Regions from separate parts of the Homo sapiens genome. Here region 2 is linked to region 1. Evidence: promoter capture Hi-C in 16 types of primary human blood cells and fetal thymus (Javierre and others, 2016). All regions are on one chromosome and are shown on one strand. Each heading gives the region's core, a stretch centred on a gene start or on the middle of the fragment in contact. The rest is flanking DNA. Distances are from core to core; before and after follow the strand shown. Region 1 overlaps ST6GAL1 (ST6 beta-galactoside alpha-2,6-sialyltransferase 1). Region 2 holds the start of EIF4A2 (eukaryotic translation initiation factor 4A2).

What was found. The method cuts DNA at HindIII sites, captures the fragments that hold promoters and counts their contacts. A CHiCAGO score of 5 or more calls a contact.
Region 2: a contact is called between the fragment with the promoter of EIF4A2 here and a fragment that was not itself captured in region 1, in 1 of 17 cell types (total B cells). The highest score is 5.7, in total B cells.

What each region holds. Positions count from the first base shown.
Region 1 is chr3:187,063,038-187,065,774 of GRCh38, forward strand. All of the region lies in intron 5 of ST6GAL1 (ST6 beta-galactoside alpha-2,6-sialyltransferase 1), which reads left to right. Among named protein-coding and RNA genes, the nearest start is that of RPL39L, 75 kb to the right of the region's middle. RefSeq lists an enhancer at 2,597-2,737. The HindIII fragment of the contact is 2,549 bases long and covers 81-2,629 here.
Region 2 is chr3:186,782,225-186,784,961 of GRCh38, forward strand. EIF4A2 (eukaryotic translation initiation factor 4A2) reads left to right here and starts at 1,353. Exons shown (of 11, transcript NM_001967.4): 1 at 1,353-1,415; 2 at 2,208-2,253; 3 at 2,340-2,472. The coding sequence starts at 1,387. SNORD2 (small nucleolar RNA, C/D box 2) reads left to right here and starts at 2,572; the gene lies at 2,572-2,641. RefSeq lists an enhancer at 2,029-2,258. The HindIII fragment of the contact is 20,029 bases long and covers 1-1,553 here.

The DNA of each region.
Region 1 (2,737 bases), core at 105-2,604:
GTTACACAACAATAGGAATGTACTAAGCTGAATACTTAAAGTTGCTAAAATGGTCAATTTTATGTTATGTATATTTTAAAAGCTTTCTTTTAAATCAACAGGGAGAAACCAGTTGATAGAGGGAGAAAGTGAATATACTAAAAAGAGGAGAAAATGATTAGTTACCCACAACATGATGGTGGTGGAGCCAAAGCGTAGTGGAGGATGAACCCCAGCAGGCGGGAGTCAGAGGGAAGAAGGTGCGAGTGGTGTAGCTGGAGGCAGTCAGTATTAGAAGGATGAGAGGGCTTCTATTTTCTCTGCAAAGTGGCATGCAAGGCCAAGTCAGAAGGAGGCTGAGGGGGAAAGAGGTTTTAGTAGAGAAGGTTTGAACAAAGAGATTTATAATTGTCATTGAGGTGAGTGGGACCGTCAGTAAACCTGATGAATGGAGTAGGATTTCCAGGCCATGCTGGGCTACTTTGAGGTTGAAGAGAATGAATTTAGAGAGAAACCAATCTCTGTTTGATACATGGATGGTAGGATCTGGAGGTGAGCAGGCAGCAGCAAAGAGGAGAGGGGAGAGGGGAGGAGCCCTCCCTGAGCACTCTCTTGGACTGCGGAGGCTACCTACTCTCTGAGCACTTCTTCGTGATGATTCAGTCTTCCTCACTGTGAAGAACGAAACCCCAGTCCTGCAAAGATTTGAAACTGTATTTAAGGCCAAAGTAAGGTTGCCTGGGAATTAAGAGTACTGGAGTCAGGCAGGCTTTGATCAGATCCCTCCCCCAACACTTCCTGTGTGAGTGACTTCAGCAAGTTGCTTTACTTTACCTTTCTGAGCCTCATTTCCCTTACTTGTAACACAGAAATATGAATAGTTACTATCCAGGGTTTTTTTTTAGGATCAAAGGAGTTACTATGTGTGGAGCATGTCACCCAGAGGCTGGTATGCAGCAAGTGCTTTGTAAATAGTAGCGATGGGCACTACTGAAACCTGAATGTCTGCCTCTGCCTGTTTGCGAATGACTCCACCTTCCCAAATCCCAACAGGGAAGGTGAGTCAGCTTGAGACCACTTGAGAGGCATCTAGCAGAAGGGAGGCAAAACTTCTGTTAAAGGATAATTTTTAGGGAAAAAAAGGTAAGATGATGACTCTCATACAGATATTAAAAATGAATTCATCATGAAGATTTTATTTTACTCGTATGATGGAACCAGGCAGATATTACAACTGGTTCAAAGGAAAAGTCAAAGCAACACAAATTTGGAGTAAAGGAGTTGAACTAGTTTTTCTGTGAGATAAGGCAGGGGGAGGGGAGAAATCAATTGAAACTCTCCTGGGCAGCATCCTGCCCAGTAGGCACATGTATTAGTTGCCTACAATTCACAAAGGGTTGCGAAATAGCTCCCGTGGAATCAGAATCTGACAGGGAGGAAGAGTGTGCTCAGAAAATGCATGGCTTTCTACTGAAGCAGATTTTTTTCCCATTACACTTCTAGATCTCTGTGCACCATTGTGCCAGGGCTGCGAGGAAGGTGGCCCACTTCCCGGGATACACTACCCACCCTCAAGAGAGCCTTTCCTGCTGCTTCTTAGGCAAGTCAGCTCTCTTTTCTCACCTCCTGTAAGCAACACTAAGTATCTGGCTGTTCCTTTCGTACTCGAGTCCTGGCCGCTCCATGACAGCACTTGTGGTGGTACTGAACTGTGATGGACACTTTCTATCATTGCCCTTTCTTACCTTGATATCCTAAAAAGCTGGTGGTCTGTCTTCTCTATCTTTTGTCCTGGTCAGTTATCCTAACTATTTTGTGTCTGTTTCTGTGGATTAGTAAACGGGGTCCCCACCCCCACTCCACAAGGAGAACATCTGGCACCCAGAAGTCACTGAGAGAATAGCTGTTGCTTTGGTAGAATTCTGCCTCTGAGTGGCTTGTTCTTTTCCCAGACGGAGAGGTCTCCTGACAGCAGCTCTCTTCTTTTTCTTTTTTTTTTTTTTTGAGACAGAGTTTTGCTCTTGCGCTCAGGCTGGAGTGCAGTGGTGCACTCTCGGCTCCCTGCTCTGCCTCCTGGGTTCAAGTGATTCCCCTGCCTCGGTCTCCCAAGTAGCTGAGATTACAGGCATGCACCACCATGCCCAGCTAATTTTTTGTATTTTTAGTAGAGACAGGGTTTTGCCATGTTTGCCAGACTAGTCTCAAACTCCTGACCTCAGGTGATCCACCTGCCTCAGCCTCCCAAAGTGCTGGGATTACAGGCATGAGCCACTGCGCCTGGCTTTAGCAGCTCTCTTCTAAAGCCATCTGGACCCACATTTGTTCAGCTCCCCTCCCTTGGCCATGATGAAGGCATGCAAAACAAAAAAGGCACTTTTCTTATTGAGAAGGTGGCTTTTTATAGAGAATGGTGTCATACTGTTAGGTTTCAGGCCAGCAGACCTAGTCAGGCATGTGACACTTCTGTGCCAGGTGTGGCTATGAGAGTCAACAGGAAAAATGATATATGTAAATGGACAGGTCTTTAAATAAATGCAGTTTTGACTATAAGAGTAAGAAGGTTTCTGTGAGACTCAACTCAGTACCTCCTGTACCCTGTGGGCCTGAGAGAGGAGACAATGGGACAAGAAGACCCAGTGGCTTCCTTGGAAGCTTTTGTGCTAGCTGGAGAGAGAAGACCTACTTCCTATATGCCTAGCAACAGTCCACACTGACTGGACTGCAACCAGGACATTTCCAGATTACTCAGTGGGGCTTA
Region 2 (2,737 bases), core at 103-2,602, 280 kb before region 1:
GAGGAGCAGTACCACTGGACTGAGGGCCTGGCCCACTTTGCCATCTTGGTATTCTTAATCTTTGTCCTAGTTCCTGGCACGATAAGAATTTTCAAATAAATAAATAATTTTTGTATTAAAAAAGTAGTATTTAGAACCGAATATCTTCTATAATATAGAAAATTGAGTCAGCTTTCCCAGTAATGATTCTTTAAGTTGGCCTTCTGAAATATGAGAAAATGTTACCCTGATAGTCTCGATGATATTTTGCACCATGGGTAGGGTTGTATTTTAAAGTTAAATGACTACATATATTGTTTTTTGTTTTTGTCGAGAGACCTGAGATGGGGCTAATTGAAAACGTCTGGAGCTTAAAGACCCGTGCAGTTTACGCAGCAAGGATATTATTGCTCTGAATTTCAATAAATCAACATTTCACTATATATCGGCAAAGTCTACAGCCTTTAAAAAATGACCAATATAGACGGAATCAAAACCGATGTAGTCCCAAAGCGGCACAGAGCTGTATCTGCCAAAGCGTCCATTTAAATTCGTGCGTTCCAAGGAAAATTACTGCTTAGTTTCTATCCATTTGCAAAAGTTTATGATTTTTTTCAGGCATTCCTCACACCTGTTAGGTTAAAATCAGTAACACTCTTAAAAAGAAAGCGAGAGACCGGAAATGATATGAGAATAGAATTGGCCACTCCAGAGACATCTGCAAATGACACTCCATTTTTCCTTCTCGCGCTGCAAAATGTACCGGTAAACCGGACTTCCCGGGACTCGCTGGGTGGCCGACATTTTCCCTAGCAGGAATTTTACGTTTCCAAGATCTGAATGGATGTTAACGGTCGGGCTAAATGCCAGGCAGGTCTTCATTGTGGAATTAAACAGCGGTGGGAGCAAGCGGAATAACCGAGTTCCCCTCCCGCACCTGAGTGCCGGCAGCGAGCCGCGAGCCGGGACCTGTCACCCGCGGGAAGCCCCGGCCGCCCGACGAACAGCATCTCCGGTTTCCGCCTCCGGCTCCGGCGCGGCTCCCCCGGCCCGCCTCTGCGTCAGGGACGCGGAAACCCCGTAGGAGCAGGGCGGGCGGGGAAAGCGAGGTTTAACTAACTCCGCAGCTATATTCTTCCGCCGCGAGGTAAAGAGTCCCAACCCAACCCCGGGCCCTAGGATTTCCAGCGACCCTGTAATATCGAGAAATTACCACATTTGGGTTTTTCTACCAACTTGCTTAGGATTTTATCCGAGGTAACGACCCCAGGATCACAATTTTGTAGCTGACCGAAGCACGGCGAGAAAATTCCTCCGCAAGAAACGGGTTCCGGCCACGAGCCTATAAAAAACGGGTGGTTGGGCGCCGCTGTCTTTTCAGTCGGGCGCTGAGTGGTTTTTCGGATCATGTCTGGTGGCTCCGCGGATTATAACAGGTATGCAGTCTGTTGGCGGTCGCGGTCTGTAGTGAAGGTCATAGGGCGCCAGGGGAGATGATAGTGGATGGCACGGAGGCAAAAACTCTAAATTAATGGACGTTTTCTTAGGGTACAGCACTCCTGTGCCCTTCCAGAAGCTTCCATGATGGGTAGGGCCCGGATTGTGGGGAGATAGGACGGTGGTGCGAAAGCAGTGGCTAAAGGGCGTTTTTCCTCTCTAAGACATTACGAAACTTCGGCTGCTTTCCTTCCCAGTGTAGAGCACGGGAAACATGGAGTAAAAAGCCGTGGCGCAGTCCGAGTTCGGTACACTGTAACCAGGACCCGAAGCTTTATTTTCGGTCATCCACACGAGTTGGGGGAGGGTCCTAGGCTTTACTTGGGGAAGGGTTGGAGGCAGCGGTCTCCACTCGGCCACGGCGCGGAGGCGACGGGACAGGACCGGTGCCGGTGAACCGTTGGCATCGCCCTCGCCAGGCCGCTCCGCCCGCGTCAATCACCCGGCTTGCGCATTGTTGGGGGCGGAGTTCGGCGCTCCGAGCTCTCGCGAGACGCTCCGCAGTTGAAACGGGATCGCCATGCGCTCGGGCCTGGGGGGCTGCCTTTCCGGGCATCCGCAGGCCCCAACCTTTAGGGAAGGCGCACAGTGTGGATATTCGCCCTGAGGCTGCTGCTTTAGCTTGTGCAGGGGAGGCTAACGTGCTGAGACGGGTTGCAAAGGGCTATGCGCTTAAGGTGCAGTTGAGGTGGCCTGGAAGGGGTGTCTGACTGCAGTATTCTTGTCAGCAGAGAACATGGCGGCCCAGAGGGAATGGACCCCGATGGTGTCATCGAGGTAAGAAACGGTTGTGGATCTTGAAGCTTTGGAAAGGTGAGTGTGTTCATCTCATTTATGCGTGCATTATTTTTTCTAACTTACAGAGCAACTGGAATGAGATTGTTGATAACTTTGATGATATGAATTTAAAGGAGTCTCTCCTTCGTGGCATCTATGCTTACGGTTTTGAGAAGCCTTCCGCTATTCAGCAGAGAGCTATTATTCCCTGTATTAAAGGTAAAAGAAACTGGCATTTTTAGGAAATTGTTCTACATAGACATGAACCATAAAAGGGAAAGTAACCTCTGGGGGACTAGCACCTGTTTGTATTCCTTAAAGTGAAATGATGGCAATCATCTTTCGGGACTGACCTGAAATGAAGAGAATACTCATTGCTGATCACTTGATTATTTGGGCATAATGTTCCAAATGGAATACATGGTGTGAAGTAGAAGTGACAATTTGATGTGGGATCGGTAAATGTGTATCCTACTTTTTTTAG